Regions from separate parts of the Homo sapiens genome. Here regions 1, 2 and 4 are each linked to region 3. Evidence: promoter capture Hi-C in 16 types of primary human blood cells and fetal thymus (Javierre and others, 2016). All regions are on one chromosome and are shown on one strand. Each heading gives the region's core, a stretch centred on a gene start or on the middle of the fragment in contact. The rest is flanking DNA. Distances are from core to core; before and after follow the strand shown.

The links. The method cuts DNA at HindIII sites, captures the fragments that hold promoters and counts their contacts. A CHiCAGO score of 5 or more calls a contact.
Region 1: a fragment that was not itself captured here is called in contact with the fragment with the promoter of MYOC in region 3 in 1 of 17 cell types (activated CD4 T cells); the score reaches 6.6 in activated CD4 T cells.
Region 2: a contact is called between a fragment that was not itself captured here and the fragment with the promoter of MYOC in region 3, in 5 of 17 cell types (activated CD4 T cells, naive CD4 T cells, M2 macrophages and 2 more). The highest score is 8.3, in activated CD4 T cells.
Region 4: a contact is called between a fragment that was not itself captured here and the fragment with the promoter of MYOC in region 3, in 4 of 17 cell types (activated CD4 T cells, total CD4 T cells, naive CD4 T cells and 1 more). The highest score is 8.1, in activated CD4 T cells.

Annotation. Positions count from the first base shown.
Region 1 is chr1:171,954,007-171,960,461 of GRCh38, forward strand. All of the region lies in intron 2 of DNM3 (dynamin 3), which reads left to right. Among named protein-coding and RNA genes, the nearest start is that of DNM3-IT1, 93 kb to the left of the region's middle. The HindIII fragment of the contact is 4,113 bases long and covers 350-4,462 here.
Region 2 is chr1:171,991,198-171,997,766 of GRCh38, forward strand. All of the region lies in intron 4 of DNM3 (dynamin 3), which reads left to right. Among named protein-coding and RNA genes, the nearest start is that of DNM3-IT1, 130 kb to the left of the region's middle. The HindIII fragment of the contact is 5,276 bases long and covers 692-5,967 here.
Region 3 is chr1:171,649,669-171,656,905 of GRCh38, forward strand. MYOC (myocilin) reads right to left here and starts at 3,020. Exons shown (of 3, transcript NM_000261.2): 1 at 2,340-3,020. The coding sequence starts at 2,943. The HindIII fragment of the contact is 6,597 bases long and covers 1,029-7,237 here.
Region 4 is chr1:171,972,115-171,978,829 of GRCh38, forward strand. All of the region lies in intron 2 of DNM3 (dynamin 3), which reads left to right. Among named protein-coding and RNA genes, the nearest start is that of DNM3-IT1, 110 kb to the left of the region's middle. The HindIII fragment of the contact is 3,249 bases long and covers 267-3,515 here.

The DNA of each region.
Region 1 (6,455 bases), core at 1,156-3,655, 300 kb after region 3:
ATCCCTGTGGGCTCAACCTAGCACATAACTCAGAGGGACTACTGCCCCTTCTGTTGTGGACATTAACCTGCAATTAACTCAGTCTTAGATCACATTAATTTTGGGGCCAGGACACTTTATTACTGGTTCATAGTGAACTTGCAGCCCATTGTAACTGCCAAATTTTTTTTCTTTTTTGCACTTTGCCTGGATCCTCTATTAGCATTGATTTAAGAACAGTACTTTGCATGTATTATCATAGTAAATCTCTTTTGCTAAATTTGACTGATGATTCCAGCCTGGTGAGATAATTTTGGGTCCTGATTCTCTTTTCCAATTTGGTTGCAGTTTCTCCTTTGTGGTTATAATAAGCTTACTATCTAACCTCGTCCAAATTCCTGGGGGAAATAATGCTTGTTAGAAGTGGGTCAAGGAGTTTCTGGAATAGCATCTTGTTCTTCCTCACACATTCTTACCCTTCTTTAATTTCTGGATGCAAAGTATATTGTTCCTTGTTGACAAAATGGAAAATGAAATCCTCTTAAGATAGTAAAGTGGCTGTCAACTGTAATGCTCTTAAATCACTTTGCTGCTTAGTGCTCTCACAGCTGATACGCAGTTCCCTCTGTGGGCAGCGGCGTTTTACATCAGATCACCTTCCATTTCAATTTAGCATGCCTGCTCACTCCTGCAAGGGGAGGTTTAGTCCTTGGTAACAAGTCTAGAAAATTCTAAATTACACCAAAGGAAAACACCACCAGGAGATGGAGGATTTTTAATGAAAACATATTTTCACAGTGTGGCATTTCAAGTAGAATAACTAGAATTGTGGAAACTGGGGCAACATTGTGTTATGCAATTTTTCCTGAGAAAGCTAAAAATATGTTTTCAGCAGAGAATTAATGAATTGTAGTGATTTGATGCTAAGCAGTTCTGTTTTAATTAAAATATTTAACTTACTAATAAAATGTCAGCACAATTTGAAGGTAGAGAAGTTCTGTTGGAATTAAATTAATATTCTCCTTTTTAAACACCTGGCTCAGCATGTTAAAATAAAATTTGAAGTACTTCTGTGGGCAGTACTGCTAAGTGATAGCAACCTTCTACCTTGTAGTTCTAGCTAGGTGGGCTCTTGGCTCTTACTCTCTTATGAGTAAGTGAGTTGCTGGATAAGTGTTATCCCTTAGCCATAGAATAGTTGCCATAAGTTTACTGCTTGCATGGCTGCATTGGCTAAATGAACTGCTTAATGGTAGGAAAGCTATGCACCACTGTACTTTAGAAAATTTGATAAATGTGCACTTATAAAAGATAATACATTTCATCATTTCAAAGAGAATATGATTCCCTAAAATATAGTTATTTTAACTTTTATGGTTACACAAAACAATGATAAATCAACTCACTTTTTTCCAATATATTAAGTGCACTGTGTGTTTCCAGCTGTGTGGCAGATATAAGGGCATCAGAGAGGAATATGAGATAGTTTTGGCCCATAGACCAGAAGGGGAGTCAAAGACTTAAATGGTACAATGTGGTCAATAAAATGATAAAGCTATTATCTATATCTTTATACATATCCACACACATGACCATACATATTTCCATTCCCATAACTATAACCATGTCTATTGTGGGAATATGGAGGAGAGATACCTGCCCTAATAGGTGAGAGGCATAGGTAGCATTAAAGGAAAATTTTCTGTTGAAGAGATGCCTAAGTTGAATCTTAATTAGTAGAAGCTAACTGGGCTGTATTAGTCTGTTTTCATGCTGCTGATAAAGACATACCTGAGACTGGGCAATTGACAAAAGATAGAGGTTTAATGGACTCATAGTTCCACATGGCTGGGGAGGCCTGACAATCATGGCAGAAGGTGAAAGTCATGTCTTACGTGGCAGCAGACAAGAGGAGAGAGGTTGTGCAGGGAAACTCCCCTTTATAAAATGATCAATCTCATGAGGCTTCTTCACTATCACGAGAACAGCATGAGAAAGATCCGCCCCCATAATTCAATTATCTCCCACCAGGTCCCTCCCATGACATGTGGGAGTTGTGGGAGCTACAATTCAAGATGAGATTTGGGTGGGGACATAGCCAAACATATCATTCTGCTCCTGGCCCCTCCCAAATCCCATGTCCTCACATTTCAAAACCAATCATGCCTTCCCAACAGTCCCCTAAAGTCTTAACTCATGTCAGCATTAACTCAAAAGTCCACAGTCGAAAGTCTCATCTGAGACAAGGCGAGTCCCTTCTGCCTATGAGCCTGTAAAATCAAAAGTAAGTTAGTTACTTCCTAGATACAATGGGGGTACCCACTGGATAAATACACCCATTCCAAATGGGAGAAATTGACCAAAACAAGGGGATAAAGGCCCCATGCAAGTCTGAAATCCAGTGGGGCAGTCAAATCTTAAAGCTCCAAAATGATCTCCTTTGACTCCATGTCTCACATCCAGGTCACACTGATACAAGTGGGCTCCCATGGCCTTGGGTAGCTCTGCCCCTGTGGCTTTGTAGGGTATAGCCCCCCTCCTGGCTGCTTTCATGGGCTGGCATTGGGTGTCTGTGGCTTTTCCAGGTGCATAGTGCAGGCTGTCGGTGGATCTACCATTCTGGGGTCTGGTGGATGGTGACCCTCTTCTCACAGCTTCACTAGGCAGTGCCCCAGTAAGGGACTCTGTGTGAGGGCTCTGACTCCACATTTCCCTTCCACACTGCCCCAGCAGAGGTTCTCCATGAGGGCCCTGCCCCTGCAGCAAACTTCTGCCTGGGCATCCAGGCATTTCCATACATCCTCTGAAATCTAGACAGAGGTTCCCAAACCTCAATTCTTGACTTCTGTGCCCCCGCAGACTCAATACCACATGGAAGCTACCAGGGCTTGGGACTTGCACCCTCAGAAGCAACAGCCCAAGCCATACCTTGCCCCCTTTTAACCATGACTGGAGTGGCTGGGATATAGGGCACCAAGTCCCTAGGCTGCACAGAGCAGGGGGATCCTGGGCCCACAAAAGCATTTTTTCCTCTTCAGCCTTCACAACTGTGATGGGGGTTGGGGGGCTGCTGTGAAGACCTCTGAAATGCCCTGTAGGCATTTCCCCCACTGGCTTGGCAATTAACATTAGGCTCCTTGTTATTTATGTAAATCTCTACAGCCTGCTTGAATTTCTTCTCAGAAAACGTGTTTTTCTTTTCTTTCTTTCTTTCTTTTTTTTTTTTTTTTGAGACGGAGTCTCGCACTGTCACCCAGGCTGGAGTGCAGTGGTGTGATCTCTGCTCACTGCAAGCTCCACCTCCCAGGTTCACACCATTCTCCTGCTTCAGCCTCCTGAGTAGCTGGGACTACAGGTGCCCGCCACCACACTCGGCTAATTTTTTGTATTTTTCAGTAGAGACGGAGTTTCACCATGTTAGCTAGGATGGACTCGATCTCCTGACCTTGTGATCTGCCTGCCTCAGCCTCCCAAAGTGCTGGGATTACAGGCGTGAGCCACTATGCCCGGCCCAGTGTTTTTCTTTTCTATTGCATCATCAGGCTGCAAATTTTCCAAACTTTTATGCTCTGTTTCCCTTTTAAAACTGAATGCTTTTAATAGCACCCAAGTCATCTCTTGAATGCTTTACTGCTTAGAAATTTCTCCCGCCAGGTACCCTAAATCATCTCTCTCAAGTTCAAAGTTCCACAGATCTGTAGGACAGGGACAAAATGCTGCCAGTCTCTGCTAAAACATAGCAAGAGTCACCTTTACTCCAGTTCCCAACAAGTTCCTCACCTCCATCTGAGACCACCTCAGCCTGGATTTCATTGTCTGCATTTTGGTCAAAGCCATTCAACAAGTCGCTAGGAAGTTCCAAACTTTCCCACATTTTCCTGTCTTCTGAGCCCTCCAAACTGTTCTAACCTCTGCCTGTTACCCAGTTCCAAAGTTGCTCCCACATCTTCAGGTATCTTTATAGCAGTGCCGCAGTCCACCGGTACCAATTTACTGTATTAGTCTGTCTTCATTTTGCTGATAAAGACATACCCAAGGCTGGGTAATTGACAAAAGAAAGAGGTTTAATGGACTCATAGTTCCACGTGGCTGGGGAGGCCTGACAACTGTGGCAGAAGGTGAAAGGCACGTCTCACATGGCAGCAAACAAGAGAAGACAGCATGTTCAGGGAAACTCCCCTTTATAAAACCATCAGATCTCATGAGACTTATTCACTATCACAAGAACAGCATGGGAAAGACCTGTCCTCATGATTCAATGATCTCCCACTGGGTCCCTGCCATGACATGTGGCAATTGTGGGAGTTACAATTCAAGATGAGATTTGGGTGGGGATGCAGCCAAACCATATCACAGGTTATGATGTGTGTGTATGTGTTTGTACTTGTATTTTTATGTGTATGTGTATGTATGTGGAGGCATCTGTGTGTTTGGGAGAACAAGGAAAAGGGCTGTGATGTTCCTGAAAGTGAGTTGGAACAGAAGCTTGGAAGTGAGAAACACTGTGAGGTTGCTGGAGTATATAGTGTGTCTGTGTGAGTTTAGGTTGGAGTGGGATACACAAGGAGCTCGTGGACAAAGGGAATCCATCAAAGGTGTTGGAGCAAGGGGATGGTATAGTCAGCTTTACATGCTGAGTGGATTGCTGTGATTACAATGGGCAGGATAGATGGAACATGGCAAGATTTGGGGTGTGACTGTGGAGTAAGCTGTCCAGATGAGAGGTGATAGAACTACCCTCACTTGGCCTTGGTGATAGTGATTTGGGGAGGGGGAGATCAATAAATTTTTAGAAAGTAATGTCAGATAGATATACCTATCTTATATATCTTTTGTTACATTCGTTTCTAAGTACCACATAGTTTCTGCTAATGTTGCAAATCATATTTCTAAAAAATTATGGTTTTGAATTAATTCTCATGGTTGAATATTATGTAGCAGTAAAACTATTGAACTGCAGCCATGTGCATCAACAGTAATAAGTCTAGGAGCATAATCTTGAGTGAATAAAGCAAGTCCCAAATGAATGACTTCATTTGTATAAAGCTTAAAAACAAAACTGAAAAATGTGTTGGTTAGAGATGCACAGGTATGTAATAAACCAATATGGAAAAGGAGATAATAAAATAAAATTAAAAATCATGGTTAATTCTCATGGAGGAGAAGGTGAGAGAATGAATACAGAAGGGGGAAGTATATGGGTGAATGGAATGGTATTGGACAGTTTTGATTCTTATATTAGTGGTGGGTTCATGGGTGCTGGTTTTATTATTATTTTTCATTATATATATATGTCAAATGTAGTATTTTGTATTATTTGATATATTAAAAAGATAATAAGGGAAAAACAGATACATAAGTAGAAATAAGGGCAAGATATCCTCAGGTTTCTAGCTTGGGTTACGGGATCAGTGATGATATCAAATAAATAGAGACAACTAGAGGTTTATTCAGGAACAATGATGAGCTAAGGTTCTTGAAGCACATCTAAACAGATGGATATGCAAGCCTGCAGCTTGTGGGGGAAAATCTAGGCTACATATGCAGATTTGTAAGTCATAAATATACAGTTGTCTTTCAAACCAAAAAATGGATAAAATTGCCCCGGAAGAATTAAAAACAACAACAACAAAAGTGAAAAGAAAGTAATCCTGGGAAGCACCAGCATTGAAGTGTCAGGAGACAGAGAAGTCCATAAAGAGAAGGAAGGGGTCAAAAGATAGGAGGAAAAGTGAGTGGCATCAGGGAGGAAGCCAAGGAGGTAAAGTGTTATGAAGGGAGGGGTGATTATCAGTGTTAGATACACCAGGCCATTTACTACGGTGAGGTCTGGAGTTAGGAGGTTTGTGCTGACCTTAGCGAACTCTGTTTCAGAGCTGTGGGGACAGAAGCCAACTGAAGTGGGGAGAGGGGTCTGGGGAGCCAGACAGCGGGTACTGTGGAGGGGGTAGAGGAATCTTTGTAGAAATATGAGTGTTCTGGGGTGAATAGTGCCCTCCCAAAATTCAAGTTCTTTCTCCTGGAACCTCAGTATAGGACTCTATTCAAAAATAGGATCTTTGCAAATGTAATTGGGTTAAAATCAGGAATGAAGACTGGATTAGGATGGGTTCAAATCCAATGACTGCTGAACTTATAAAATGAGAAAAATTTGGACACAGACACACTGAGAGAACACAATGTGATAAGAGGCAGAGACTGGAGTAGTGCATCCATAAGCCAAGCCATTGCTGACAACCACCTGAGGCTAAGAATGACATGGAACAGATGCTTCCCTAGAGCCTTTAGATGGCCCTGCCAACACTTCAACTTAGGCTTCTAGGCTATAGGACTGTGAAATAATAAAATTTATGTTGTTTAAAGTTACCCCATTTGGCATACTTTGTTATAGCAGCCCCAGGAAACAAATATAATGAATGATAACTAGTGTGTGATTAGGTAAAGAGAGGGCTCCACTTTTTATAGGATGGATGAGA
Region 2 (6,569 bases), core at 2,080-4,579, 340 kb after region 3:
CAGCAGACATCAGCTAGGTATCCTCTGATTAAATTTTATTCTGATACTATTTACCTGGAAATAGCATCAGATCACACTGATTGAGGGTTCAGTCCCACAAGATGACCCCCACTTCTGATGCCAGTTACAAGATCCAGGTTGTTTACCCTGTGCTCTGACTGACTGGCTATAAATTGGGGTTTCTACAACCTTCTTCTTGTGTTCTATTAATTTGCTAGAGGGGCTCACAAAACTCGGAGAAACAGTTCTTTGTTATAAAGAATATTACAAGGGATACAGATGAAGAGATGCATAGGGCAATGTATGAGAAGCGATGTGGAGCTTCCATGTTCTCTCCGGGCACACCATCCTCTAGAAACCTCTGCATCTCCAGCTATCCAGAAGCTCTCCAAACCCAGCCCATTTTGGATTTTTATGGAAGCTTCATTATGTAGGCATGATTGATTAAATCATTAGCTATTGGTGATCAACTTAAACTTCAGCCCCTCATCCCTCCTAGGAGGTCATATCTGTTCTTTCTAGTGACCAGTCCACTTGCTGAAGCTATCCAGGAGCTGCCAGCCACTTACCAACCCATTAGCCTGCAAAAAGATACTTATCACTTTGAAGATTCCAAGGACTTTAGTAGTTGTGTGCTGGGGAATAGGGAAGAAGACTAAAAATGCGTACCGCAATATGACAATCCAGATGAAGCTTCATGGAGGACTGCAAATGATACCATTCAGTCCCTGATTTCTCTTTCGTCCTACCTTGGTTCAGCCTCTTTGAAATTGTTTCTTTTTTAAGATAAATTCTTTTCAAGGGTGACAAGATGGCTATAGATATCCTGTCTCACATCCTCACAACTTCCAATCTAGTAGAAGAAAAGCCATTGGAGAATATTTTATTTGTGTGTATTATGAATTTTATAATAAATGTAAACTAAAAAAATTGGCCAACTAATAAATCTTGTAAAGTGATTTCTTAAAATTGGTTTAACATATTCATGCTATATTTTACCCCTGTTGTGCACATAGGGAATATTAATGGGCAGTAACTACATCTCATTTCTCAGGCTTTTCAGAAGAAGATTCATTTATGACCTAAAATAAACTCATGTGATCACAGATCATTAGGTGAGAGCAATGAATGTTTGTGGAGGGAGTCATCAGTTTGCCAGAAAGGAATCAATATCCACAAAGTCATTCCCAGTATATTCGATGTGTTGTTATAGCGTAAGGAAAATATAGCATTGACTGTCAGTCAGGAGTATGTCATTTTATGCCACAAATCTACTCCAGAAAGTTAAATGAGATTAAAAAAAAACTATCATAGGCTTGGCTTATTTACAAACTCATTTTTATTAGGTGCCACTTAGAAATTGTCATGTAAATGTTCATGAACTTACCTAAAATAAATCTCCTTTTTTGTGGATCATTAGAACTGCTGCTCCACCATTTACAGACCTACTTGCCCCCAGTTTTTATATCCTATATATGGTGGTCCCAAGAGGAGACTTTTGAAAGTTTTGGTAGGAGTCATTACTGATGAGATAGAATTTATGTGTGCTATTTTGCCATTCTTTTTGTGTATGTCCTATGTCTTTTTGTTTCTCTATTTCTCTGCTACTATCTCCTTTTGTGTTAAATATTTATTTTCTAGTATATAATTTTAATTCCTTGGTCATTTATTTTACTTTTTTGTTATTTTCTTAGTGGTTGCCATAGGATTACAATTAACATCTTAATTTATAGCAATCTAGTTTGGATCAATACCAACTTAATTTCAATAATACACAGCATTTTGCTCCTATATAGCTCCACTCCCTCCCCTTCCTATGTGCTATTATTGTCATACAAATCACAACTTTTACATTACATGCCTATCAACACAGAAATATAATTATAGCTTTATATGATTATCTTTTAAATCAGATATGAGAAAAAAGAGTTACAAACAAAAATACATTTATATTGTCTATTATATTTAACTATGTAGTTAACTTTACTGGTGTTCTTCAGTTTTTCCTGGGTATTTGAGTTACTGTCCAGTGTCCTTTTTTTTCTGCCTGAAAGGCTCTCATTAGTATTTCTTGTAGGCTATGTCTGTCAGTAAGGGATTCTCTTGGTTTTTGTTTATCTTGGAATGTCTTAATTTCTCCTTAAATTTTGAAGGATAATTTTTACTTAAAGTTTTTTTCCTTTCATCAATTTGAGTATGTCATCCCACTACCATCTGACCTCCATGGTCAAAATTCAGCTGTCAATCTCATTGAGGATCCTTTGAACATGATTTTCTTCTCTCCTGCTGCTTTCAAGATTCTTTTTTTTTTTTTTTTGTCTTTTGGCAGTTTGATTATGATATCTGTAGGTACAGATCTTGTTGAGTTTATCCTACTTGGAGTTTGTTGACCTTCTTGGATGTGTAGATTAATGCTTTTTAAGTCAAATTTGATAAATTTTCAGCCATTATTTCTTCAACTATTCTTTCTTCCTCTTTCTCTCCTCTTCTCTTTCTGAGAATCACATTATGTGTATGTTGGTATGTATGTTGGTAAGATGTTTTCACCAATCTCTGAGACTTTGTTCATGTTTCTTCATTCTTTCTTTTGTCTTTCTTTTCCTTAGACTGGGAGGAACAATCTCAATTGATCTGTCTTCAAGTTTGCTGATTCTTTCTGCCTGTTCAGATCTGCTATTAAATCTCTATAGTGAATTTTTTTATTTCAGTTATTTTATCTCCAGATTTTCTATTTGGTTCTTTTAAAAAAAAATTTCTGTCTCCTTACTGATATTCTGTATTTGGTGAAACATTATTCTCATACATTCTTTTTGTTCTTTAGATTATTATTTTTTTTTAGTTTTTAAAACATATTTAAAATAGATGATTTAAAGCCTTTGTCTAGTAATTTCAATTTCTGGGATTGTTCAGGGACAGTTTCTATTGACTGTATATTTTCTTTTGGGTGGGCCATACTTTCTTTGCATATCTTAAAATTTTTTTGTTGAAAATTAGATATTTAAATAATGTGATGTGGCAGCACTAGAAACCAGATTCCTCTCTCCCTTCCAGTTTTTGTTGCTGTTTATTGTTGCTGCAGGTGCTATTTATTTGGTTACTAATTTTCATGAACCAATTCTGCAAGTCTATATTCTTTGTCGTGTGTGGCCACTTAAGTCTTTGCTCAGCATTTTTTTTTAGTGGTCAGGACAGGGATCTTCTTAAATACTAGAGTCAGTAAATCGCTAAACATTTACCAAAGCTCTCAATGTGCATTTTGGGGTATGGCTTCAATGCTCAGGCAGACAGTTTACAACTCTGCCTTAATCCTAACTTCCTGCTTATGCAGAGCTCAAGGTGAGCTAGAGGTGAGAATTTAGGATCTTCTGAGGTCTTTGCTGTGTTTGCACAAAACCCCAAACATGCATGTGGCTTTCTAGATTCTAGGTTGTACATATATACAAAATTTTCAATGGCCTTTGTGGCCATCTCATTCCCAAGTTTTCCTTTTAAGTTTTTTGGTTAGTTTTTTCTTTCTTTCTTTTTTTTTTTGCCCCAATTGTTATTGCTCCCTGAGACCTGTGATGTTGAACAATTGCCACTGATTATTTTTGACAAATTTTTTCTGGGGAAAGAGGCTTTTCACACTGAATAAGCTCTGAGTCAGGTCAAGTAAAGAAAAGCCCTGTGAATGGGGGTTTTTAGGGAACTGCTAGACAGGTTAAATAGTTACAATTGTCTGAAAATTGTATTTTTGATGCTCTCCAACCCCATTCTGTCCCCTCCAGGGGTTTCTAGGGTTCTGATTTTCATCATGACTGTGGTGTTTTTGTTTTCAAGGCTACTGTAGAGATGAGAGGGGGATGGGCATAGGGCAAGTTCAAACACCATACGGCTTGTTGTTCTTACTGAAATCCAGGTTTTTTTTTTTTTTTTTTTTTTTTTGAGATGGAGTTTTTGCTCTTGCTGCCCAGGCTGGAGTGCAATGGCACAGTCTCGGCTCACTGCAACCTCTGCCTCCTGGGTTCAAGTGATTCTCCTGCCTCATCCTCCCAAGTAGCTGGGATTACAGGCATGTGCCACCACATCCAGCTAATTTTTTGCATTTAGTGGAGACAGGGTTTCACCATGTTGCTCAGGCTGGTCTTGTACTCCTGACCTCAAGAGATCCACCCACCTCGACCTCCCAAAGTGTTGGGATTACAGGTGTGAGCCACTGTGCCTAGCTAGAAATCCAGGTGTTTTTTTTTTTGAATATTTACTCCTCAGATTGTTGTAAGCCTTTGGTTAATTTCCAGAGTTCTGAAACAGTTGGCTTTAACAATTTTTGCCAGTGTTCTTTCTTACTGCCTTTATGGAGAAGTGGCCTTTTCAGAGGTCCTTATTCCAGCATTCCCGTTTATATTCCTCATTCTGGTCCTATACAACTGTAATAACAACAAACTTTTCATATAACAGTCATTTGAGTTGGGATGGTGAGGGCAATCTGGTTATGACATCTGTTACCCTGTTGGTCTTCAGGAATGATTTGGTTGACTGTGCAAGTGGCCTGTTCTCACCACTTAATGTACATCTTTCCTGATATTTTGCCCTTGGCTAAGCAGGATGACCTATTTAGATAGTAGAGGACCATTCTTCATTCTTTATTTATCTGAATTAGAATCTTATCCACCAAGGTACATAATTATCGTCTTCTGAGAGGTAGTGTATTTTAGGCAGTAGCTACTTTGTACTAAATTAAATCTTTTTGACAATAGACAGGCAATTTTCACCTAAACGGGATTTGAGTATATTGGAATATATGCTTGGGAAGACAGCTCATCTTGATAAGTTAATTATAAATTATTTGCATAATAATATTCAGATTGAAAACTTCTATAAAATAAGTATTATTAAATGTTGGGATGTATTTACATATATTTTATATTAAGTTTCACATGAAATTATTCTTTCAGTATATGTAGAATGTCACAAATTTGTGGCTAGACAAAGTTCAAGCTCATCTTTTGCATCATTTGTGAAAAATAGTTTTACTGAGTAGAAGAGGGTTTTTAGCATAATTTCAAGGGGAATGGCTATATAATTTGAAATGTCAAACTCCTAGCCATCAGAATTATATGATGTTTTGAATATATTTTTCTCTGTATAGTGGTCTTTACTTTTCAAAGTGCTCTTACTTTTGCTTTAGTTTCACCAGAATACTAGAGGTTGGTATGGGTGAGATCCTATTTTGGGGTAAGGAAGTTTTTCTAGGTAATATATACAGTGGTTGAATAACATACCTGTAAACACACCATGTGCTTATGGTATAGCCCCTCCTCTCCTCCTCCAGTACTTTTTCCACTTCATCAGACCATTCCTCTGCTAGGTGCCTTATTAAATGATGTAGATAAAAATAAACACAGGGCTTGGAAGCAGATCCATCACATCCTGATTGTGTGTCCTTGGGCAAGTTATTTAACTTCTTTGAACCTTATTACTTAATCTCTAAAATGAAATGAAATTATCATAACCCTTACCTCAAAAGTTTGCTATAATAATTAAGATAAATTATTATAAAGATAATAATTGGCTCGGCATGGTGGCTCACACCTATAATTCTAACACTTTGGGAGGCCAAGGTGGGCAGATTGCTTGAGCCCAGGAGTTCAAGACCAGCCTGGGCAACATGGTGAAACCCCGTCTGTTCAAAAAATATAAAAAAAATTAGTGGGATGTGGTGGCGCATGCCTGTAGTCCCACCTACTTGGGAGACTAAAGTGGGAGGATTACCTGAGCCCAGGAGGTTGAGGCTGTGGTGAGCTGTGATCACGCTACTGCACTCCAGCCTAGGTGACAGAGTGAGACCTTGTCTCAAAAAAAAAAAGATAACACTTAGTCGAAATAGCTAACCAAATGCTAGCAGTTATTTTCCTCTTGAAAATAATTAAAGGAAACTTTACCAGGCTTTGTTATTTTATTTGTTGTATAGAACTTATAAATTTAATAAGCTTTTCTTTAAAGCAATCAGTTATATTTCATAATTCAAACTACTGCCCACACCCATATGATTTAATGAGGCTTGATAATACTAAAAAATAGAATTGTAATAGAATTATTTTGAATATTTTAGTAATGTGTTATGCAATAAGCATAATTTCAGATTCATCTGCAAATGGCTAGATTAACTATAGGTGAAAGAAGGTCTTAGGTAGGTTGGGGCTGGGGTGGGATAGAAGGAGGATTATCCTGAGCTTGGCTTGATTTGCTTCAGGACTATGCTAGCTGCTGCTCATGGATTTAGAGTAAAGGAGCAGACTAAGATTCCTAGCACAGTCTCGCCATAGAGAGAGCGTTCAGTGCTTTCTCAAAGGAGCACTTCCTCCAGCTATTTTGTTTATTTATTTATTGGCACCCCAGATGGGACAGGAACCATTCAGCTATTTACAGTCGTGCTCATATACACTAACAATTCAGTCACTCCCTTTGTTAGTTTATTAATTTGTTGCTTAAAAGACATTTATCAGGCATCTGTTGAGCCAGCAAAATGCTCCTGGTCAGTAGTGTAAGTTCAATGTGCTGTATCACCTGGTAGTACACTAGACTAGCAG
Region 3 (7,237 bases), core at 1,770-4,269:
CCTATAATCCCAGCTACTCAGGAGGCTGAGGTAGGAGAATTGCTTGAACCCGGGAGGCAGAGGTTTCAGTGAGCCAAGATCGTGCCATTACACTCTAGCCTGGGCAACAAGAGTGAAACTCTGTCTCAAAAAAAAAGAAAGAAAGTCACTGAACTTCAGAGGAAGAGGCCAGAATTCGAGCTTTGCCACTAACTGGTAGATGGCCATGGACAAGCTGAATAACCTCTCTGGGCCTCAGTTTCCATATCTGCAAAAATCAGCCAGCGGTACCGGATGCTCATTAGGTCCCTTTCCAGTTCCACATTCTTGTACTAATGTAATTTCCTGCTCATGAAAAACATCTACTACTAGAAAAGAACTTCCATGTTTGGTGTTCAATATAATGGGATGTTGCCCTTATTTCAAAAGTGGAGTAGCTGGAAAGATCAAGAAAAAATATAAAATTAGGAAACACATCTAATAAATCCCCAAAGACTTGTTAAATGACCACAAAAGAAAAAAAAAGGCAAAACATTGCCACTATTTTTGTACACACACACACACACCACCCACACCCACATACACACATGCAGGAGTTTTTATTGAGAATGTAACTTCATTCAACAGTCTGAAATAAGTAATGCCTCATCACACTTCTGGTAATGATGATTCTTTCAATTGTCTCCACAGATTCAAGTCTCAAGCTCTACCACTGACCAGCTGGGCAACCTTGGCCCCTTAGCATCTTAGGACTTCACTTTCCTTGGTTGTAAAATTCAGAATTGGATCTCTTCTAATTCTAACAATCTAAACATTTTTTAAAAATCCTTTACATCTTATAGGTATTTCATGTGAACCCCACAAAAATTATTCACAGCAGGAATTTTCTTTGTTATGTTATGGACAAGAAATGAAGATGCAGAGGGTTCAATAACTTGCCCAAGGTCATCCCCAGGCTCTGGCTCTTAGGTTTTCTAACCCCATAGCTATGAAGAGCTTGCCTTTCACGTAGAAGGCTCTTTTTAGGAAATATTTTCTCATAATTTTAAAGCTTTTCAAGCCTATAGAAAAACTGAAAGAATAGTACAATAAGCTCCCCATATACTTAGATTCACCAGTTTGTAATTCACCAGTTATTAATATTTTGCCACAGTTGTTTTACCTTTCTTTCTCTCATTATCTATATATTTGCAGTCTTTCTTCAACCATTTGAGAGCAAATTGCAGACATCCTGACGCCTCACCCTGGGTACTTAAGCATGTATCTCCATAGAACAAAGATTTTATCCTTCGCAACCACAGTATCATTATCTCACCAAGAAACTGAACATTAATACAGTAACATAATAATGAGCAGTCAAATTGCCTCAGTTATCCCAAACCTGTTCCTCATAGCCTTTTTCCCCCTTGGATGAAGACACCAATCAAGACTCATGCACTACATTTGGTTAACACATTTCTTTAGTCTCTTTAATATAGAACAAGCCCTTCCCCACCCCTTTTTTCTTTCTTCCTTGGCACTGACATCTTTGACCAGTCCAAACTAATTGTCCAACAACTGGATTTGCTTGCTTATTTCCTCATGATTAGAACACTTCCTCAACAGGGAATATTTGGGAGCCCACTTTCACAAAAAGTGACACAAATACCATCTTCCCAGCTAATAAGAAGACCTCCCCCAACACCTCACCCCCGCACCCCCCCCACACACACACAGACTCACCTTTAGGCAAGAAGGGACCAGGATGAACAGAAGAGCCTCTCAGAAAAAGCCATCTCAAGAATTTGTCTGATGACTTAAAAGCAGAGGTTCTCAGATTGGACTGAGTAAGAAAACTTTCAGAACAACATATTAAGAAAACTGACAGAGAGGTGCCATCTCTTTATTTTGCCAGGGAAGAACATTTAAAAATAAACAAAAACTTACCACTTATTATCATTTCCCAAATCTATTGTAATTTCATAAATAAAGGTCATTTTAACATCAAAAGGTACAAATAACAATCTGAGCAAAGGTTCAAAAAAGGATAGTTTTTCAAAAGGGACAATTGACAACTTTCTACTGCTCATATGCAGACACATCTCACCCGGTCCTTTTATTTCTCCTTTTGCTATGGACTGTGAAAACTGACATGGAGGGGCACAAGAACTCTGAACCACTAATCTAAATGAAGCTCTCAGGAGCTAAATTACTAGTAATACTTGAAGGTGATCGCTGTGCTTTCCTTAATTCATCTGTCTTGTGCTAGCTGTGCAGTCTCTAGGAGAAAGGGCAGGCAGGGAGGCCTGGAGCGCCTGTAGCAGGTCACTACGAGCCATATCACCTGCTGAACTCAGAGTCCCCCCACTCTGCATTCTTACCTTCTCTGGAGCCTGGTGGCACAGCCCGAGCAGTGTCTCGGGTCTGGGGACACTGGCCCCTTCTCAGCCTTGCTACCTCCTGGCTGCTGCTTTCCAACCTCCTGGCCAGATTCTCATTTTCTTGCCTTAGTCGCTTCTTCTCTTCCTCCAGAACTGACTTGTCTCGGAGGAGGTTGCTGTAGGCAGTCTCCAACTCTCTGGTTTGGGTTTCCAGCTGGTCCCGCTCCCGCCTCAGGGTGCCCAGCTCCCTCTGCAGCCCCTCCTGGGTCTCCTGGGGCCTGGCAGCCTGGTCCAAGGTCAATTGGTGGAGGAGGCTCTCCAGGGAGCTGAGTCGAGCTTTGGTGGCCTCCAGGTCTAAGCGTTGGGTGCTGCTGTCTCTCTGTAAGTTATGGATGACTGACATGGCCTGGCTCTGCTCTGGGCAGCTGGATTCATTGGGACTGGCCACACTGAAGGTATACTGGCATCGGCCACTCTGGTCATTGGCCTTCCTGAGCTGAGCTGTCCTGGCCCCCACATCCCACACCAGGCAGGCCAGAAGCAGCAGCTGGACAGCTGGCATCTCAGGCCCAAAGCTGCAGCAACGTGCACAGAAGAACCTCATTGCAGAGGCTTGGTGAGGCTTCCTCTGGAAAGCTCTGCTGTGCTGAGAGGTGCCTGGATGGGTGGCCTTGCTGGCTCATGCCCGAGCTCCAGAGAGGTTTATATATACTGGGGAGCCAGCCCTTCATGGGGGAAGACAGAGGTGGCCACGTGAGGCTGGGTGGGGCTGTGCACAGGGGGGTTGCCTTCACGCTGCCAGCAAGATTCTTAGAAAATAACCTTCCAGAAGTCTGTTTGGAGTTTCTTTTTAAAAAGAACATCCCAATTTATGCACCCATACCCCAATAATAGTTCCTATATCTCCACCTGGTTTTACACACACACACACACACACACACACGTACACACACTTACACCAGGACTACTGGTGTGCTGATTTCAACAAGGATATATTTCTAGTTTATATTTCCATTCACTCTGCAAACTCATTGAGAACCTGCACTGTGCCAGGCACTATGCTAGGAACTGGAGATCCAAACAAGTCCTTTAAGACGTAGCAGGGACAGAGAAAAATAACAGCCAGCCAGAACACAAGGACAGCACCCTACCAGGCTCCAGGGAGAGCATTCCTATAGAAGCGGCAGATTTCCCCCCTCACCCCTAGCTTTAAAACAACTGTGTATCTTTGGGAGAACTTTCTAATTTCAGTCTTGCATCTCAGGCACCAATGTCAATGTTAGCCTCTAAATCAGTTCTTACTCTGTGTGTGTGCATGCCAAGAACCTCATTGGTGAAATCTGGGGAACTCTTCTCAGAAAGATGTTTTCAAATATATAAAATATAGATTACAAAGGAAACAAATGATAATGAAATATGATTATCAAAATATCAAAATTTTAAACATGTTTTATTAATATGTTAAAAACAAGATCCAGCAGGAGGTCTAATTTCAAAGTAGTTTTGAGTATAAATATTTCACTTACAACGTATCTGCAACAACTGTAATATAGTATAAAATGTCTGTGATTTCTATTGGTAATGACAAAATCACAGGTACTGTTATTACCACTTTGAGTTTATGGCTCTATTCGCAATGGAATAAAATGTTAAATTTAGTTAGAAGGTGGTAAAAACAAAAATGTAATTTTTTCCTCATTCAAATTCACAGGCTTTCTGGACTGTAGGTTAATAATCCCTGCTTTACATTAATAAACCCAAAGAGAAAAAACAAAAAGCAAATGGCAATAGCCAATAAATATACCAAAACTGTCAGAAGTAACTTTAAGCCACTTGAAATAATGATTGCCTTTGAGCAACTTTATGTTGTTAATACCAACAACAGTGTCAATACTTGTGAAGTAAATATTTCCAAACTGCCCTGGCAGACTCACCTCCAGAGTGGAGAAACACAGTTTGCTCTAAAGATTCTATTCTTATTTGATTGGTTCTGCAGTTAAGCCTGAACTTGAGACATTTACAAATGGGTGTTTGTTTACAGCTGACCAAAGGGTACTAGTCTCATTTTCTGAATCAGATAGTAAACATCGCTGAAATGATTTTTCAAAAAACCAATCATATAGTCAGCAAGACCTAGGCTTGAATCTGTTTGGCTTTACTCTTAGGAATGTTTTCTTCCTGTTAAAAGAAACGGGATTGCCCTTGTGCTGCTAACTCCACAGAGAAAAAGAGTTCCTAATAAGGAGAAACTAAGTAATCTTACAGCCTCAGTTACTACCTTGTGACTTGCTCAGAATTACTCAGCTTGTAAAGGAAAAATATAGTATTAGAAATCAGGTCTCCCGACTTCCCTTGAACTGATTTTTTCCCCCCACAATATAGCCCTGCCTCCTAGAACCCAGGATCACGTGGACTATAATCCCTGTGGTCAATTCCCACTGCCCTTGAATGAATCTGTCTTTCTTGCTCATACACTATCCCTCTCTTTTTCTTCTCCTCCCCTGCGCTGCAGGTCACTCCGTGCTGTCAGCAGTCACTGCTGAGCTGCGTGGGGTGCTGGTCAGGGTGAAAAGTTTAACAATCTCTGGCATTTTCCACTTGCTCTGGCCCAGTTTTTGAATGCCAGGCAAAAGCTACCACCAGTTAGTCTCTGCATTCTTTTTGGTTATTGGCAAATGCCATTGTCTATGCTTAGGGAAGGAAAATGTGGCTGTTGGGTTCATTGAGCTTTCCTGAAGCATTGTGGCTCTCGGTCCTGGAGTCTGACGTGATCAGTGAGGACTGATGGAGCACCCAGCTTCTGCCTGCCTTCCTGTCCCCCTCCACCTCCCCTGTGGCTCAGCTGCTCCAGCTCTGCCTCCTTCCCCTCTCAACATCCCCCCTCACAGAGAATCACAGGGAAGTGTTCACAGAACACGAGAGCTGCAAGGGTCTTTATAGCAGAGAAGACTATGGCCCAGGGAAGGAGAGACACTTGCCCACGGTCGCACAGCCAACCAATGGCAGAACCAGAAAGAAAACCGAGTCTCCTGATTCCAAGGTTTTCGACCGTCTTGCATAAGCCAAGTCCACCACAGGGCTGAGTAGTTGCCCAGAAGACATGAAAGAAAAGACTCCAGTCACTTCTTCCGTGAATTAACGGCCTAGGAAATGAGCTCGCTTCCTATATTCCCATTAAATAAAGGCCTTCGTGAAGGAAAACCCATGCACACCCTGGAATTTTAACAGCTGACTTTATGAAACTGCATCCCTTCATGAAATAGACTTCTTCTCCTCCAAGCAGAGAAAAGATAAAAAGGCTCACAGGAAGCAACGGAAAACTCCCAGCCCCGTGAACAACACTGAACATCTGGGCAGCTTCAGCCTTGCCCTTTTCACCTTCCTGCCTTTCAGCACCCGCTCAGCCCCAGCGTCCCCACTCCCTGCAGTCCCCACCTCCTGGAATTCTCCTGGACGTGGAGGCCCCTTTCCCTCTGAGGAAACACTGTCCCCTCCAGATTCTCCGTTAGACTAGTTTCCCTCTCCATTTCCTTTCTGGAGCCTGGAGCCAAGGAGTCTCCAGCTCAGATGCACCAGGACGATTCACGGGAAGCGAGGCAGGCCAGCTGCAGCGCTGTGACTGATGGAGGAGGAGGCTTGGAAGACTCGGGCTTGGGGGCCTCCGGGCACGATGGAGGCAGCAGGGGGCGCTAGGGAGGTGGCCTTGTTAAGGGATGCTGCGCACAATTCTTCAAGATGGTGTTTATTTCCTTTCTTTCAGCACTGGGTTTAAGTTGGCTGGCTATTAATTTTCTTCTGCACGTCTTCCATGAGAAACTGTCACCTCCACGAAGGTAGGGCAGTGACTGCTTTGCTCACCATTTTGTCTCTGGTGTCTGGCAGATATAAGTACTCAATAAATTGTCAATGAATGCCTGGATGAATGAACGAGTCACACAGAAATAGAAAGCAACAGGTCCCTAGAGAGTGATAACAAAACAACCAGTGGCACGGGCTGGCAGGTTGCTCAGGACACCCAGGACCCCGGGTGCTTGCAGGGCTCCCCCAGCTGGAGAGGAAACCTCTGCCGGGGGCTTCAAGGAGTCTCTGGGGTATGCCCTCCTCCCCTATACACACACACAGATGGCCCCAAATGGAACTAGTTTATGTATACTCTTATTTCAGTAACGATGTGGAGGCTTACCACAAAAGCATGGTGAATAAAATGGTAACTTAGCCTGAAAATGAGGATGAGGGAAGAAAGTGATGAGGACCAGTGGTCTGGGACTAGGCAGGCAGCTCATGGCACCATTCCCCATCCCAAGAATCCCTGAAATTATCACAGCTTTTGTCTGTTTCCCTGTTGGTTTAGTAAACCATTCAAGTTATTCCTTATTAAACACTGACCCTTGGCCGGGCGCGGTGACTCATGCCTGTAATCCCAGCACTTTAGGAGGCTGAGGTGGGTGGATCACCTGAGGTCAGGAGTTCAAGACCAGCCGGGCTAATATGGTGAAACCCCATCTCTACTAACAATACAAAAATTAGCCGGGCGTGCGCCTGTAGTCCCAGCTACGCGGGAGGCTGAGACAGGAGAATTGCTTGAACCTGGGAGGCAGAGGTTGCAGTGAGCTCAGGTGTAGAGCATACAGGTAGGTGTAAGACACAGACCCTCACCCTCACGGAGCTTCTGGCTGTAACATCGTGATGCAGAAGTCTAGAGTGGGGAGACTTCCTGTGGAGCGGGATGGGCTGCACAGGGGAGGTGGCATTTGTAATGGGACCTACTGAGATGACACGTTAACAATGGTTGAGGCACTTGGGTTGTAGATGTGGTTGTAGGTCAGACACATCGGGCCTGTGTGTGAGGGCTATGACAGATCATTCTGAAAAAGTTAGGATGGGGACACAGTGATTTC
Region 4 (6,715 bases), core at 641-3,140, 320 kb after region 3:
AAGGAATGTTAAATCAAAGATGTAGAAGACATAGTCCTACTCTCTAAGCACTTTCTTTGTAGCACTGGAGATAAAACACAAACAACTAGTTACTACGCTGTGGAAGGCGTAATACATGTTATATGAATATTCTTGAACGTGTTACTTAGCCTTCTGGGATTTAGTTTCTTTATCTGTAAAGAGCAAGCACTGGCTTTGGTAGAAAATCTTTAAGGCTGTTTCTACATGCAAAATCACGTAAGTAGTACATTCACAAGATCTTGAAAAGCTTTAGAGGAGAAACACATTCCTTATAGTGGAGAGATCAAGGGAAGTTTCTTAGTGGAAATGATATTTGAAGAGGGCCTTGTTAGGTTGTTTTGATAGGCATATACTATAATAGTGATAAAACCAGTTATTGAGTGTTTGCTGTGCAGAAGGCAGTATGCGAGGCACTTTAAATACAGATTCCTAGGCTTGGCGCAGTGGCTTATGCCTGTAATCCCAGCACTTTGAGAGGCCGAGGTGGGCGGATCACCTGAGATCGGGAGGTTGAGTCCAGCCTGACCAACATGGAGAAACCCTGTCTCTACTGAAAATACAAAATCAGCCGGGCGTGGTGGCGCATGCCTCTAATTCCAGCTACTTGGGAGGATGAGGCAGGAGAATCGCTTGAACTCGGGAGGTGGAAGTTGCAGTGGGCTGAGATCGCACCATTGCACTCCAGCCTGGGCAACAAGAGCAAAACTCCATCTCAAAAACAAACAAAAAACAAAAACAACAACAACAACAACAACAAAAACCCCAGATTCCTGTGGGGAAGAGGGTGGAGCAGAGTTCTCTCTCAATACCCTGAAGTTATTTGCACAATTCTGTGTATATGTAAGTTAGTACATTTTTATGGGGAAAGTTTCCGTGGCTTTTCTCAGATGCTTAAAGTAGTCATAACCCCAGAAACAAGAACCGCAGTATAAAGAGTAGGAGATATGATTCCTATATTTTGGGAAATGCCCATATGTAGGGGGCGGGGGAGGAGGGATAGTGGTGCTGGTGGAAAGAATGAACAGTTGATAACAAAGAAGATGTTAAAAGCTAAGAATTGGAATCAAAGCCTCTTGGAGGGGAGAGCTTGAAGTAGTGACACACAGTTAATGTGGGGTGGCTAACAGATTGTAACTGGGAGTCAGAATGTCTGGATTTAAATCTTTGACTGGCATCTCCTACCTGTGTAACCTCAGGCAATTTGTTTAACCTCTTTGAGGCTAAGGCTTTTGCTATTTAGATTAATTGTTACATATTTACTCAATTCTTTTTTTTTAATTAAGGGTTTACTATGTGTTAAATGCCTTCATTCATATATTCTTTGATACAGTATGAATTTGTTGAGACCCTATACCTAGTTACTGGGAGAATTTTGGTGAATGAAGCAGAAGAATTCATTCTCTTGCCCTCACTGAAACCTATGAAAGAGACACTATTTTGCAGTGGAGGGAACTGAGGCTTGGGGAAGTTAAGTAATTTCTCAGTCTTGTGATAAAGAAATTGCAGACCCTTCAAACATGGGTCTGACTCCAAAATCTTTTTTTTTTTTTTTTTGATACAAGATCTCCCTCTGTCACCCAGGCTGGGGCATAATCTTGGCTTACTGCAGCCTCAACCTCCAGGGCTCAAGTGATGCTCCCACCTCAGCCTTCCAAATAGTTGGGTCTACAGGCATGTGCCATTATGCCTGGCTAATTTTTTGGATTTTTGGTAGAGACGGGATTTCACCATGTTGCCCAGGCTAGTCTTGAACTCCTGAGCTCACGTGATCCTCCCGCCTTGGCCTCCTAACGTGCTAAGATTATAGGCATGAGCCACCACTCGTCGCCCAAAGTCTTAATCACTAGTGTTTTTGTTTTTTTTTTAATCACTAGTGTTTTTTACTTCAGAATACTGTAGGCATGGCTGACTCTTGTGAGGTTAACAAGAAGAAACTTACTTTATTTCAGGAGTAATTTACATATAAACTCAAAGGTTGAGAGAGGGATGCTGCAGATATTTTGGATAGACTTCTAAATTTATGAAACTACTAAGTATTATTAAATAATGCAGTATTTCAAATCAGTTTTTCATATGATGACACAATCAGATCACTGAGTAGTCACTACACTGTTATTGAAATTGCAGTTTTCATTGTGATCTATATTATTCATATTAAGGACCCTCTAAAATGAGTGCACTTGCTTTTCAAGTAAGATAGTTTTTTTCTCATATATTTTTCATGACTGTCTATTTTTCCACTCCCATAATTTTATCTATTTTGCAAAAGAAATTGATTACTTTTCATATTTAAGTCCCTTTTGAGGGGCTCTCTCTTTTGAGGGTGGTTGTCCTTGTGAGAGAGTTTTCCATTAAGTTCCCATTGAGAAAATTAGTGACTATCATAGCTAAGTATTAATTTACATACAAATTGAGTTAAAGAAAACCATAATACAAAGTTTTGGATCCGAACTTTAGTTTGTTTTCTTTATAGGTGCATTTCTGTTAGCATCATTTAAACTGACTGCATAATGCATTAGGTTTTACTGAGTGCTGGCTATTCTTGTAAGAATCCTCTGGGATTAAAAACAAAAATTATCTAAGGGAAACTTCTAAATATTTTAAGTTTATCCCAATTTAGATAATTTATACACTAGTTGACCTGTTCCATTAATTGAGTTTTCTTCATACTAAGGACAACCTTTGGTTCTTCTTTTTTCTCCTCCTCCTTCTCCCCCTCTTCTTCTTCTACTGTTTTTTTTTTTGAGTTGGGGTCTTGGTCTGTCACCCAGGCTGGAGTTAAAGGCTCACTGCACCCTTGAACTCCTGGACTCAAGCAATCCTCCTGTCTCAGTTTACCGAATAGCTAAAGACTGCACGTGCATGCCACCATGCCTAGCTAATGAAAAAAAGATTTTTTTTTTTTAAGAGGGAGTCTTGCTATATTGCCCATGCTGGTCTTGACCTCCTGGCCTCAAGTGATCCTCATGTCTTGGCCTCCCAAAGCAGTAGGATTATAGGCATGAGCTACTGCACCTGGCCATTGTTTTGCTTTTTAAAAAACTTTCAAGAAATGATTGGGTTGACTCTATTGCCTGAGTCATAGAATTATTTCTACCATTTCTAAGCAAAAGCGTCTTATCAGATGAATTGGCTCGGCATTTTAGTTTTATATAACCAATTGTCATATGTCCAAGAATTTCCATGATATTTACAAGACAAAATCTTTATTTTTATTTGTTTAGACCTTTTAATGTAAGAATATGTACTCTTATTACCAAGTTATACTGTACTGACTAGGTCGATGTTGCTTGGGACATCATTGATAATAAATATTTTTGTAGGACCCCAAACAATACTTAAGTGACTTCTCTATTAGTAAAGCGTTTAGAATAGATATCACTCCAAGTTATAAGAATCTGTGATTTTGTTAAAGTTTAATACGTTTATCAGAGCAAGCATCATGGGAACATACTTGTGCTTTTAGCAAAACATGTTGTGGTTATATATGTGCAAGCTTGAGCCAGAAGAGGAAAATTTTTCTGAATGATGTTACAATGTTGCAGATAAAGATTCAAAAGATAGATTGTTTTGTAGAAACTGACAAGCTGATTCTAAAATTTATATGAAAATAAAAGAACCCAGAATAGCCAAAACAACTTTGAAAAATAACATTGAGGTTGGAGAATTAACATTATCTGATCTCGAGACTTATTATACAGGTTCCACGGTTTGTGCCTGTAATCCTAGCCAGCAGAGAGACTGCTTGAGCCCAGGAGTTCAGGCTGTACAGTGCTATAATTGTGCCTGTGAATAACCATTGCACTTCAGCCTGGGCAACTTAGCAAGACCCTATCTCTTAAAATGAGGGCTTATAAAGTTACAATAATCAATAATATGGCATTGGCATAAAGAGACAAATAGATCAATGGAACAGGATGGATTCAAAAAATGGATCTACACATATGTAGACAATGGATTTTAGACAAAGGTACAAAGGCAATTCAGTGGAGAAATGGTAGTCTTTCCAACAAAGGTTACTGGAAAAAAATAGATATTTACATGCAAAAAATAAACTTTGATTAATACCTTCCACCATACACAAAAATTAAGTTGGCTGTTTCCAGCTGCTAACAACTTTCAGGAATTTGTCATGATGACTGTTCTCATACTGCTAGTAAAGACATACTGGAGATTGGGTAATTTATAAAAGAAAGAGGCTTAACTGACTTACAGTTCCACATGGCTGAAGAGGCCTCACACTCATGGTGGAAGGTGAATGAGGAGAAAAGTCACATCTTATATGGCGGCAGGCAAGAGAACATGTGCAGGGGAACTCCCTTTTATAAAACCATCAGCTCTTGTGAGACTTATTCACTATCATGAGAACAGAATAGGAAAGACCCACCTCCATGATTCAATTACCTCCCACTGGGTCCCTCCCATGACATGTGGGAATTATGGGAGCTACAATTCAAGATGAGATTTGGGTGGGGACACAGCCAAACCATATCATTGACATTTAAGGAGCTTACCAAAAACACACTAAAGATCTCCTTCAAATATTTAGATGAAATAATGTTGGCGGCAACTTGTGTATAAAATTACATACTCATAGAAAAAGTTTTTTGTGGTTTTTTGAGATATTATAATGTATCCAGCAATGCATATTGTAGCTCTGATATTTTCTTTAAAAATTTTTTAGTTACGTATTTATATACTTAGAGTTCTGATACAACTACTACTTAAATCTCATTTATAAATTTTGTTCCTTGTGGCCAAGATTCTGTGGGGAAACAGTATTTTCATTTTGTAAATCTTAGACTTTCTATTGTATTTTTTTGTATTGAAATCTGATTATTTGAATTTTCATGACAAAGTCTCATCATTTTGCTTTTAATTACTCTATAGATTTTTATTTGGCAGATCATCTTATTTTTCATTATTAAAACAAGGACTGACATTTGCTGTCTCAGAATTAGTACATTCAATTATTCTTAAAAAACATTGGAATAACTCCTTATTCAGAAACTCTTTTTGATATTTTCAGTTTCTAAACTTAGCTGATTATCAAGAGGAAGCAAAAAAGAGCCTTGAGTACCCAACTGATATCACAAAGTCTTTGATGTAAATCTCATGCATTACAGGGTCCCAGCCTTATTCTGGCCTTTCCAGCCTTATTTTAAACTCAGACCATGCATACTGGGTTATTGGATTTCTCAGTCTAGAGTAAAATATAAAACCACAAGTGAGAATGGGAATATGGCTTAAAAACAGATGTGTTGCGAACAGCAAGAAGTGACAACTGTAAACTTGATAGCAAGGGAAGAGACACAAGGGGAGAAAAAAAGCATAAAATAGCACATAAAACACTTTTTAAGTAAACAAAGTAATCTATAGCCCCAAATCATTGAAATAATAAAAAGTGTTTAAATTTTCTATCCAATTGGAATTAGATAGAAATTGAGCATCTACTATACGGTTTCCTACATCCTTATAATTAACTTACCTTGCCCTTTCAACAGCTTTTGACATCAATTCTTTCTTGAAATTTACTCTATGTCTTTGGCTTATATGAAAAATATTCCTGGTTTTCCTTCTATCTCTTTGTTTACTCTTTCAGGCTCCCTTGCCAATGCATTATCTTCTATCTGGCCTTTAAGGTTGCATCTGCCCAAGGCTCCTTTTTGGTTGTCATTTCATATTCTTCTTTTGACAATCTCTTCCACACGGTGGCTTCAATTACAACCTGAACATTACAACTCTCACATGTATAGTTCCTGGGCTAAACTCCAGACTCATTTTTAACTGACTGTTTGAAACTCTACTTGGATATTTCAAATGTATTTCAAGCTCAGCATGTCAAAAGCCATATTTATAATCATTTTTTTTCCCTTATCCACAAACCTCAAGCCTCCTCCAAGGTTTATTTGTTGATTCCTTCAGTCATCTACTCATTCATTTATTTATTCATCAATTCTACAAATATGCAACTGGTTTAGTTACTGGAAATACAGCAGGGGTAAGACAGATAATGCTCCTGTTCTCATGGTGCTTATATGCCAGTGGATGAAGACAGACAATAAAAAACAAATACGAAAAACTTCAGACAGTGACCATGTGCACCGAAGAAAAAAACTGGGCAATGTAATAGGATGTGATTAAGAGATGCTACTTACTTTGTCCAGTCAGGGAAACCTCTCTAAAGAGATGATATTTTGGATGAGGAAATGACAGGAAGGAGCCACACATGCAGAGATCAGAGGGACAAACATTCCAGAAGAGGTGCAGCTTATAGAGAGGCCCTGAGGTAGGAAGGGACTTGGTGCTCTTGAGCTGCAGAAGGGAGGCCATTGCAAGCAGAGCGACTGAGTAGGTAGGATGGAGGTAGTGATAGAGATGGCACTGGAGGCAGATGGGTGGCAGACTGTATCGGACTTTGTAGAGTAGGCCAGGGTGAGGAATCTGGATTTTTCTAAATGTACTGGAAAACCAATAAAAGGCTTTAAACAGGGGAGAAGCATGATGTGATGTATGTTTTAAGGAGATCTTTCCAGCTACTGGGTGGAGAATGGATTCAATGGAGCAAGAGTGGAGTCAGAAAGACCAGTTAGGCTACTTTTATGGTAGTACAGGTTAGAGGTGGAGCAGGCTTAGAAGTAGCATGGCCATAGTGGAGGCAGTGAGACGGTGTTTGGAAGAGAGCTGAGGAAAG